4 separate regions of the Homo sapiens genome follow, and all the other regions are linked to region 1. Evidence: promoter capture Hi-C in human tissues and cell types (Jung and others, 2019). All regions are on one chromosome and are shown on one strand. The core of a region is centred on a gene start or on the middle of the fragment in contact, and the rest is flanking DNA. Distances in the headings are between cores, read along the strand shown. Region 1 holds the start of PRICKLE1 (prickle planar cell polarity protein 1). Region 2 has its middle 150 kb from the start of LINC02461. Region 3 has its middle 1.8 kb from the start of LINC02461. Region 4 has its middle 52 kb from the start of LINC02461.

What was found. Contacts are between HindIII fragments. The study calls those that stand out against the background at their distance.
Region 2: a fragment that was not itself captured here is called in contact with the fragment with the promoter of PRICKLE1 in region 1 in 2 of the 25 tissues and cell types used here (dorsolateral prefrontal cortex and mesenchymal stem cells).
Region 3: a fragment that was not itself captured here is called in contact with the fragment with the promoter of PRICKLE1 in region 1 in 2 of the 25 tissues and cell types used here (dorsolateral prefrontal cortex and lymphoblastoid cells).
Region 4: a contact is called between a fragment that was not itself captured here and the fragment with the promoter of PRICKLE1 in region 1, in 2 of the 25 tissues and cell types used here (lymphoblastoid cells and mesenchymal stem cells).

What each region holds. Positions count from the first base shown.
Region 1 is chr12:42,588,419-42,591,131 of GRCh38, forward strand. PRICKLE1 (prickle planar cell polarity protein 1) reads right to left here and starts at 1,328. Exons shown (of 8, transcript NM_153026.3): 1 at 1,047-1,328. RefSeq lists a silencer at 1,332-1,581 and an enhancer at 2,051-2,608. The HindIII fragment of the contact is 9,160 bases long and covers 1-2,713 here.
Region 2 is chr12:43,299,810-43,302,522 of GRCh38, forward strand. No RefSeq gene overlaps it. Among named protein-coding and RNA genes, the nearest start is that of LINC02461, 150 kb to the left of the region's middle. The HindIII fragment of the contact is 3,606 bases long and covers 1-2,713 here.
Region 3 is chr12:43,152,116-43,154,828 of GRCh38, forward strand. No RefSeq gene overlaps it. Among named protein-coding and RNA genes, the nearest start is that of LINC02461, 1.8 kb to the right of the region's middle. The HindIII fragment of the contact is 3,731 bases long and covers 1-2,713 here.
Region 4 is chr12:43,102,397-43,105,109 of GRCh38, forward strand. No RefSeq gene overlaps it. Among named protein-coding and RNA genes, the nearest start is that of LINC02461, 52 kb to the right of the region's middle. The HindIII fragment of the contact is 3,057 bases long and covers 1-2,713 here.

The DNA of each region.
Region 1 (2,713 bases), core at 78-2,577:
ACACATATACATGCATCCATTTGATAGCACAAATGCATGTTAACTCTGCAGGAGAGGCAGATTTTTACATGTTTTTTTGGTTGTAGTTGTTGGTGCTTTTTTTTTTTCCTTTAGGCTGGTTCCCGTGGTGTGTTTGCCTTGTTCATGGTCTCAGTTCTGCCGCTGATACCCTTTTAAAAATCAGCAACCAAACGCGTTCGGCTTGTGATCCTGAACCCTCCTTAGGCAAGCTGGAACTAAGCGTGATGCAGCCGTCCTCCCTCTCTCCCAACCCCCAACCTCGTTCTTCAGCCTCCTGAAGACAATCTGTGAACAATTTTCCCAAAGTCCCAAGAATAACACAGCACTGCCAATAGTCACTGGCGATGCCGTTTGTTTTTCTTAGAGGGTAATGAAAATTTAACAGCTTTCTGCTGCATCCTGAGTCCCGCTCCTAATAACTATTAACATGCCTAGTTTCTTCAACTTTTTCTACCTCAAGAGAGGAAGACGCTCCCATTTTTTCCCTATATCTGTGCTACATTCAGCAAACACCATCGCGGGGCAGGGGGTTGGGGAGAGTGGTGGGAGTTGATTCGCCTCTGCCAAAAAGCCACCAGCCCCTTTCCCCAGCGCTAGAGGAGAGAATCGGTACCCTCCCTCCGGACGCCAGTAGGTGACAGGCGATCCTAAGCGGCGGGAACACGCCAACGCACCCTCGCCTCCCGGCGCCCCGCATCGCCTCGACCCTCGGGCTACAGAACCTGTTTCCACGCCGGAGAAAACCAAGGGAAGAGTTGGTTGTGATGCAGCAAACAGGAGCCATGCGGAGAGCCTCTGCGGAGCCCTGGCGATGCTGCAGCCAATATCTGCTTTCCCTGTCTACACAGCCCAACAAACCGATTATGACCTTCTCCCTGATCTTCTGCGACACCGACCCAGTCTGGGTGTCACAGACTCCGGCGGTGCCAGCGAAGGTGCCCGGCCCTACCCCTGCGGCGCTCGCCCCCCACCACCGCGCCGCAGCCCCCTCTGCGGAATCCGCCGGGATCCAGGCTGCCACTCACCTCGCGCGAGGGAGACGCAACTCGGCTGCACTGTCCTCGGCGCCGCTGCGGGGCTGCTGGGCTGCGGGGCTGCGGGGCTGAGGAGCTGCGGTCCGCGGCGTCAGGGGTGGGCGAGGGTGAGCAGCGCACGAACCATCCAGAGCCCAGAAAGTCTCCGTGCCGACCGCGGCGCGTCTCGGGGAAGTCAGCGCAGGCTGCGCGAGGCTGGCATGTTCCGGGCGCGCTGTCGGGCGGCGGCGGCCGCGGGAGACGGCGCTGGCAGCTGGGCTGCAGGCGGAGTGCGCTCGGGCTCCGGAGCCGCGCGCTGCGGCGCCGCCGCGCACCCCGCCCTCGGCCGCGGGGCCCGGCGCGAGCGAAAACGCGGAGCGCGGACGCCGCCGCGGGATCGAGGCCGCTGGGCGCGCGCCCACGCGTACCCCGGCTCGGCCCTGAAAGCGAGGTCGGGCCCGGCTCGGGCCGCGCCCGGGGGCAGGGCTGCGAGCAGGCCTGGGACCGGCTCCACGCGCAGCCAGTGGGGCAGAGCAGCAGGCGGATTATGCGCAGGGAGAAAAAAGTTCACCAACCGCGGTCCAGAGTCGCAAGTGCGGCTCGCTCGGAGCCTCTGCCCCGCCCCCGATTATAAGCCTTTTTTTTTTTTTTTTTTTAACCAACAATCCCGATGGACTGAAACACAGGAAGAGTGAAGGGACGGGGTGGGGGGTGGGGGAGAGACAAACCCAATTTCCTCTGATCAAACGATTTGGGTAGGGGTGCCTATTTGAGTTCCTTCTCCTTCGGGGGGTGTGTGAAGGGGGCAGTTAATTAAACACTTAGATTCCTTCCGGCGCGCCTTGCCGAGCTGGGGACCCGTTTGGACTCGATCCTGTCTCGTGTAATCCCACAGGCTGGTCTGAGTCTCTGCCCCGGAACCGGAGGAGTGATCTTTCAGAGCAAGAAGCCAAAGTTCAGCCTCTAGTCCGTTCCCTTCCCCGCCTCGACGGCCCTGGTCGTCTCCATGAAAACTCAGTGTGGGGGATCGTGCCCGCGAAAACCTCAGCCCACCGCAATGTCCAGAGCCTGACCCAAGTGAACGTGGCGCACTTAAAAGCGGGTTCAAAGCATTGATCCGAACACGGTGACAATTTTTCACTGGCCAAACTACTCTCCACATTTTCAGTCTGCTCAATTCCCAGAGCTGGGCTCTCAGGCGCACTCACCCACGTTGAACTGGGGCTCAGCCTGTTTGAAAGTTCTGCCCTGACATTTGTGTCACACTAAACCTTAGAACCCCCCACCCTCTCCAGTTCCGGATCGGTGGAGTCTCACCGTGTGGGTACTATTTCCCTGGACTGCAGAGGGCAGACACAGGCGGCAGCTGTTAACCCGAACTTGACAGGTGCCTCTGCAAAGCCAGGGCTTCCTTGACCTCTCCATCCTCTCCACAACGCTCTAGGATACTGTATCATCTTCCAGGAAGATGAGGATGTGTGTGGGGGGAGTGTGGAGGGAGGTGTTGACTGATGCAATTTTTATCCTTTTAAGAAAAATCAAAACTGCCAGTCTCAGAATTTCTCAGAACATCAAGTCTTTTCGATTTTCGTTGGGAATAAAGCAAAGGAATACTCAGCAAAAATGGAGCCGATGAAAAGAGAATGCAAGGAAATAAAGGCAAATGGAGGAGGAAACTG
Region 2 (2,713 bases), core at 119-2,618, 710 kb after region 1:
AGCTAGGATGTCAAGGCTGCAGTGAGCTGAGATTGTACCACTGCACTACAGCCTGGGCAACAGAGTGAGGCCCTGTTTCAGAAGCAGAAGAAGAAAGAAAGAGAAAGTGAAGGGGAAGGAGGAGGAGGTGGGGGAGGGAGATGGAGAGAGAGAGGGAGAGGGAGAAAAAGGAGAGAGAGAAGAAAGAGAAGAAGAAGAAGGAGAAGGAGAAGGAGAAGAAGCTATGCTAAACATGAGACTCCAAATTAAGTTTCCAATTTTATCAGCCCCTGAAAATCTAATACTTACTATTAGGGCTGAGATATAATCATCTTAATTTAAAAAATCATTTTTTCTAGGATTGGAAGAAAAGGTCACAATGATATTTCTTTCTAGAACATTTATAAAGGTTTTCAACTAATGGATAAAATAAAATTCAGAGCAAAATAATTCAATTGCAATTTATCTTTTGGTTTGGATTGCCTCAAAAATGCATAAAACAACAATAGTTTAAAAAAAACCTTATGTGCAACTCAGAAAAAGATAATTCTCTTTGATAAAAAAAATTTTTGAATACTTTATTTAGGTTGCCTTTCAATCTACTCTCAGTTTAGAATTTGTTTGTATATCATCATTTAAGTAGGTCTTCTGAAAACTGTTAGAGATACAAATACTAATAATTTGTATCTTAATAATAAAAGCATATTGTTTATTCTATTATAGATTTTGAGGGTTCATAGAAAAGTATAAGTCTAAAACAAACTTCTAAATACGTTAGATGATTTTTAAGAGATATAACTTTCCTAGTTAGGTTTATTTTTTGACCTTTATTGATGCCACCATGAAATAATCCCCTGCAATAAGTTTGCCACTATGTTTTCTCACATTTACTGTGTTGGGAAACCATGAACCTGACAAATGGGAAACAGGTTTAACTATATCATCCTCTCCAGTGGTAAGAATTCCTTTCAGACTTGAGAAATGGCCTAACTGGCCAAAATCACATAACTAAGAATTTCTGAAGCTAGTTAGCTATTGTACCAAAGGTCACCTCAATCCGATGCTTGTGATATTAACCACTACACATGCAACCAAGTATCAGACTATCCAAAAGGTATTTTGTGGAAAAGGGAAGGACTTGAAGACTATCAAGCCTTGACATACTAATCCCTTGGAGGCAGGCACACATCAGTTTTGATGCTAAAATTCTTCAGGGCATAGTATGAAGTGCTCATTCTTTAGTTCTAATCTTGCAATCTTGATTGAAGGATAACCACTATGGACTTGTTTGAGAGTTAACAATTAGAAACCAACTGATATGGTTTGGCTGTATCCCCACCCAAATCTTGAATTGTAGCTCCCATAATTCCCACATGTCGTGGGAGGGACCTGGTGGGAGGTAACTGGATCATGAGGGCAGGTCTTTCCCATGCTTTCTTGTGATGGTGAATAAGTCTCATGAGATCTGATGGCTTTATAAAGGGGAGTTTCCCTGCACATGCTCTCTCTCTTGCCTGCCACCAGGTAAGATGTGACTTTGCTCCTCCTTTGCCTTCTCCCATGATTGTGAGGACTCCCAAGGCACATGGAATTGTGAGCCCATTAAACCTATTTTTCTTTATAAATTACCCAGTCTCTGGTATGTCTTTATTGGTAGTGTGAGAACAGACGAATACACCAGGATACGACCAATGTTAAGCTTAAACATTCTCAAGTGGGAAATTCAGAAGTCATTTAGGAAGACAATAAACTATATATTGGTAAGATTACAAACTCTGGAGTCAGGCAGCCTGGGATGAGTCCTGCCTCTGTTTTTATTTAACTCCTTCTTAAATTTCCTTCTCATTAAAAGACTGTTGTAAAAATTAAATTCAGTAATGTAAAGTGTTTAGTGCAGTGCCTAGCAAAAAATAATCTCCTCTCCAAATCTCCCATTTTTCAGCTGTTTGACATTGGGCAATTAACTTACTTCTATGTGCCTTAATTTTAATTATTATATAAAAACAGGAAAAATAATACAAATTTTGAGGAGTTGTTAACAGAATTAGAAAAACTCATGTAAAATTTCTGACATTTAGAATTAATTAATGGTAATTGTGATTAATATTAAGTAAATCTCAATTCTGTAACATATTATTAAATTAAACTAAATTTGGCTTAAGGTTGCCCTCTGTACCTTCAACCCCTTTCTAATGAACTACAACCTATGTTAGTAGGTAGACAAACTAAAAGCCTAATTTAGTAGTACAGTATATTTTTGGTAACTTCTTTATCTCAGCCAACGACAGCAGCTGAGTGTCAGCCAATCATAGGCTGGTAAGTGATCAGATCATGCCCCAATAAGGCAAATGCAGAACCGTAACCAATGAAGCTGATTCTGTACCTGCTTTGCGATTTCTGTCTATAAATGCAGCCTGCCTACATTGCTGAGTGGTGATCTCTGAACCTCTTCTGGTTCCTGTAAAAGTATTTTCAAATTTTCACATTTTAGAAGAGGCAAACACCCTTCTTCTGCGTTCTGAGCTAGGCAAGCAGAACCCTTAATTATTTGAAAACCAATTTTTATATTTCTGTATTCTGGATGTTCCTTTTGACCCTTTCAAATTCTTTTTCTTGTTTTTTGTCCCTTTGATCTTTGGTCAATAGTACAATGATTTGCATCTTTGTCCCAGTAAAGGAGGATTTCTTGAAGTCCCTCTTGTCTTCTGTTGGTTTTCCTTTTACTAAATACAAT
Region 3 (2,713 bases), core at 133-2,632, 560 kb after region 1:
TTGAAGGGGTGGGGTCTGCTTTGCGTTTCATCTAAAATGGCTTTTATAGCCCTTAGAAAGCTGGAAATCTGCTTCATGTTTAACATCTCTTTCCACAACAATTTAGGTTCATCTTTTTGTTACTTCAGTCACTGGAAAACTTCAATGTTCAGCTGTTGTTTTTTTCAAACCTCAAAGCAATGAAGACCCTCAGTATCTTTTTATATTGAAACATGTTCTAATACAATCTTCTACTGTTGATCTATTACTTTAATATTCAGTCTTTTTTTTTTTTTTTTTGAGGCAGGGTCTCATTCTGTCGCCCAGGCTGGAATGCACTGGCATGACCATAGCTCACTGCAGCCTCCATCTCCCGGGCTCAGGCAATCCTCCTACCTCAGCCTCCCAAGTAGCTGGGACTATGGGGCTGCCCCACCACACCTGGCTAATTTTTAAATTTTGAATTTTAAATTTCTTTTTTTTTTTTTTTTTTTTTTTGAGATGGAGTTTTGCTCTTTTGCCCAGGCTGGAGTGAAGTGGCATGATCTCAGCTCATTGCAACCTCCGCCTCCCAGGTTCAAGCAATTCTCCTGCCTCAGCCTCCTGAGTAGCTAGGATTACATGCACCCACCACCACGCCTGGCCAATTTTTTTGTATTTTTAATAAAGAAAGGGTTTTGCCATTTTGGCCAGGCTGGTCTTGAACTCCTGACCTCAGGTGACCCACCCGCCTCGGCCTCCCAAAGTGCTAGGATTATAAGCATGAGCCACCACGCCCAGCCTAAATTTCTATTTTTTAGACATGAGGGTCTCATTATGTTGCCCAGGCCGGTCTTGAGCTCCTGGACTCAAGTGATCCTCCCACCTTGGCCTCCCAAAGTGCTGTGATTATGGGCCTGAGCCACCAAGTCCTGCATTATATTCAGTCTTAATGTCCCTAGCACCACAACTGAAAGTCCTGCTAGAGTCTTTGATTCTAGTTTTAACCTTATTTCCTAATAAGTAATAAATTATACTTTATTCGACATCTAGCTTCTGCTTTGGTGAGTTGGAAATGTCCCACCTTGTGGGAAACGTGTCTAAGCATTTCTCTTCCCGATTTTGTACTTAGCAAGGGAGAAACTTCTTGATGTCAGGCTGTAGTTTCTGTCTCCCTTCGTCCTCCTCCATCTCCCCACCTAGAGTTAACACAAGATGGGAACAAAAGAAAAACAGTGAATGCCAAAGAAAGACCAGAAGTAAGTACATGAGACAAAAATCCAAGGCAGGAAAAACACTGAAATAATAATAGCACGAAACAATGGAGAATTAAAGAAGAATGGCAAATATGACTGAGTCCTCTAAACAGTTGGCTATAGCTCCACAATGGAAAGTCCTGCTAGGGTCTTTGATTCTGTCCCCTAAACCATCCCAGATAGTTATGTAGCATGTGGCCTCAAAGGAGGGAGATTTTCATCCTTGTCCTAAGGAACATGTTTCTGGGCTTCCCTTATCTCCCTAATCTAATCTTACCTCAAAGCCTGCTGCCACCATTCAGTTATTCTTTTTACCCCTACTCGATATACAAAATAATTATTATTTGTGATATAAAAGTTCTTTTAAGCCCAAGACAGTGACTAAGTTACATCTCAAATATTTTCTAATCAAGATATTCTTATTTTCAAGTACAATATTCCTAGGCCTCTGGTCTGGGTCTCTGTACAGACAACATAGCCGTCACTATGTAGCAAATAATAAAATTAATGTGACTTGCAATATTAATCAACTATTAGACAAAAGTTCATGAGGCGTTGTGCCATTTTTCATGTTAGCAATAGCTTTTAGCATTTTGTTTCTTTATTCCTAAAATATGGAAAAATTCTTTGTCATAGTTGCATTTCAAAATGACCCAAATACTCCTGCCAAAATAAACAACCCTAGGTTTATTTTCATTATAAGTTTCCCTCTCTTTACTGCCCATTGGCTTCATTTTTTAACCTTGTTTTGCCTTTTTTCCCCTCTGAAAACCGAAAATTTAAATTTTCTGGTTTTAAATTTTTTTATGTCTTATTGGAGTTTTAGCTGACTGTAGTCTTTTTCATGTCAGTATTATTCAAGTTTCGGAAAAGTCTCTTTACCATCTATTAACAACTAAATAATTATAAATTGTTGGCCAAAAAAAAGAGAAAGAAGAAAAGAAAAAGAAAGAAAGGAAGAAAGAAAGAAAGAGAAGGAAGGAAGGAAAGAAAGAAAGAAAGAAAGGAAAGAAAGGAAGAGTAGTGGGGGAAAAGAATAAAATTTGCCTGCACCTTTTTGTTGTTTTTTTTTTTCTCTTCTCTTTTTATTTTTTAATTTTGCCTACACCTTTTAAAGCAAAACAATTACATTTTTTCTTTTAGTTTTATAAACTAATGAAATTAATCTGTTCCAACTCAATCAGTTGTTTCATACTGGAAAATGTCACACATCGGGGCTTTTAGGAAGGAATCATTGCCGTGCCTTGGTGAAGGGTGAGTATGGCTTTAACAACTGCTGGTGGAGGAGCCTTGGAGGAAAGAACAGGATAGTAAATGCAATTGCTTGTCTCCTGAGAGTTAACTCACAGTCCAGATGTCCTACCACCTATCTACCTGTAGTCTGAAGGCACTTTGTGAGTAATAAAAGCATGTAAATTGTAAATTCTTCTCCTTTTCTCTTTCAATATCTTACAATGTATCAATGACAATTGCTATTGTTATTGGTAACAGGTTGATGT
Region 4 (2,713 bases), core at 143-2,642, 510 kb after region 1:
TAGTTTCCTCATGACTAATGATTTTTGCAATTTTAAAAAAATTTCATGGCCATCTAAACAATTCTTTTTTTGCTCAAGTATTTTGCTTGTTTTCTTGATTAGGTTGTTGTTCTCCCTCCTCATTGATCTGAAAGAATTATTTGTACCAGTCTTCTATAGTTTGCGTGTTTATCTCCTCCAAATCTCATGTTGAAATTTGATCCACAATGTTGGAGGTGACAAATAGTGGGAAGTTTTTGAGTCACGGGAACAGATCCCTCATGAATGGATTAATGCCCTCTCTCAGAAGTGAGTTCTCCTTCTTTTAAGTTCCTGTGAGAGTTAGTTGTTAGAAAGAGCATGACGCTGCCCCCATCTCTCTTGCTTCCTGAAGCTCTTACCAGCAGCTTAGCAGATGCTGGTGCTATGCTTCCTGTAAAAACTGCAGAACCATGAGCCAAATAAACCACTTTTCTTTATAAATTACCCAGCCCCAGATATTATTCATTTATAGCAACACAAAATGGACTAAGACGGAGGTTTTGCTGGTATATGTATTAAAAAATATCTTCTCCCTTTCTGTGGCTTGTCTTTTCACTTTCCTAATGGTAAAACACTACTAATTTGCCATGTGGAATGACATTGGCATCCTCACCACATATGCATGTCAGTCACCACATCCTAAAAGTGTGTGGTGAGAAACCAGGAGCTGGATGGTGTGCTTAAATGTGATGCAATCATTTGAATTTTTGTTTTTGAGATATTGCTGTGCATTATAGTTTTATATATGCATGATTAAATGAACAGAATTATTTATTATCCAGATTTTACTAAACTAGTCTTCACAAAATGGGCAAGTGACTTCAAAATATTTTTGCAAAGTAAACCTAAATTTAAGATAATCTTAATAGAACAGGCACTTGGATACTGTAAGAAAATGGTTGCCCTGATAGCTCTTTTCCAAATAAGAGCTATTCCTCAGTTAAGTAAAGAAAACGACAGCCTAATATCTGACAAGTTAGTAAAAAAAAATTGTCAGAAAAGCCATTTAAATTCAAGATTTATGCCTACCTTAGTGAACAATGAACCTTGTCCTAACATATTTTTCTTGGATGTATTAGTTAAAGCATAAAGCCACCATGATTAGTACAATATTAAATATGTTTATTTCATCTTTATCTCATTCTTTAAAGTTTTCTAGTTTTTGTACATGAAACACATTAATTGACATCTATTGAAGCCATAACCAAAATAGTTTAACACACTTCTCTAGAAAATTTAAAACTATGCATGTACCGCTAAATAGAAGCATTACCATGCAACACAAACCTTCAGGCAACTTTTGAAATGGAAATTTACAAAGCACCTTTTCCACTTTAGTTAAGGCCTGGCTATTTGAAAAGCATCACAGTGCATCTCACAGTGCGTGTGCGGGAGTGGAGATGCCTGGAACAGAATTCCGATAGGACTGTAAGTGAGAGTTCATTGTTCTGAACTCTCCATTGTTCCATAAAACCTGTCTTAAATATTCTCATGTTCTTGGGTAAGGACTGATTTCTGAGAATGGAATATGCCTACTGAGAATGGTAGTTTTCACATTGCAATGTGGGATTTCTGGGTCCCTGGGAATATTTAACCATGTCTTTAACTATGGCAGCAAATCAACCAGTGGAAGCAGTTGCGCCAGGTGGCAGGTGGAGCATCTTGGGAAGAAGCCAGTTTTTCAAAAACCATGTTGCAAAGGCTTAATTAAGCTTAGGCAGTCAGATAAGCATTACTTTTCTATGAAACAGTCTAAATATAAATACAAAAATAAATAATGTAGACAGAAAAAGATAATGAATGTAATTTTTCTTTTGCTCATATTCTAGAGATTTTGTAAGATTTGATGGAACCAAGTGGGCAAAAGTATTGTTTGTGGGTATGTTACACGCATCTCCTTTCATCTGATGGAGGAAAATAGCCTCAAAAATCACCCAGTGCATGCTGTGGATTGTTGGCAGGCTTGAGAGAAGCCACCTTGGGTGGATGGGTCTTAAGGATCTCCAGGGGAGGAGTTTCCAGATTGTGTTAACAACCCCTTGCAGTCTTTGCTGGCTCAACACTGGGTGGACACTTTTCCTTCAGCTGAGCCTCACATCACTTACTTGGCATGATATGCCCTCCCCTCCCCAACGTCCCAAATGCTGTGACTACTTTGGAGGAAAATGGTGGAGAAATGCGAAGCATTATTTTCGGAACAAAATCTCTGCAGTCCCAAAGCTTTTGCAAAGCATTCTCTATAGGGGGCATATCTGCCACATCTGTTCTTGTGTGGGGGAGGCACACTGTATTTATCATTTGAGATGAGTCACCTCATAAAGGAGCATAGTTGACTTCAGCTTTTGTGTTGAAAGGGCTCTCTGGTAGAATGAGCTGTAGTATTTAAGCTTTAAGTGGTACATATCTAGGCCTCCTGGTAGCACCCTGCCAAGAGCAACAATAGCTACAGAGGAGTAAAATCTCCTTCTTTCCATTTCCTTTCTGTCTGACTCTAATGATACTACTGGTGCGGCACAGGCAGTGAGGATCCTCAAGGGTGCTGCCGTGAGAGACCAAGCCATCATCCCACACCTGTTCTGGAATGAAAGCAGCTGAATTTGGCAAGGCCAGGAGACACAAAAACAAAGGATAAAAAGAACCAGAAATGTTACAAAAAACACCAGTGAAATATCTCTAACCAATCATTAAACAT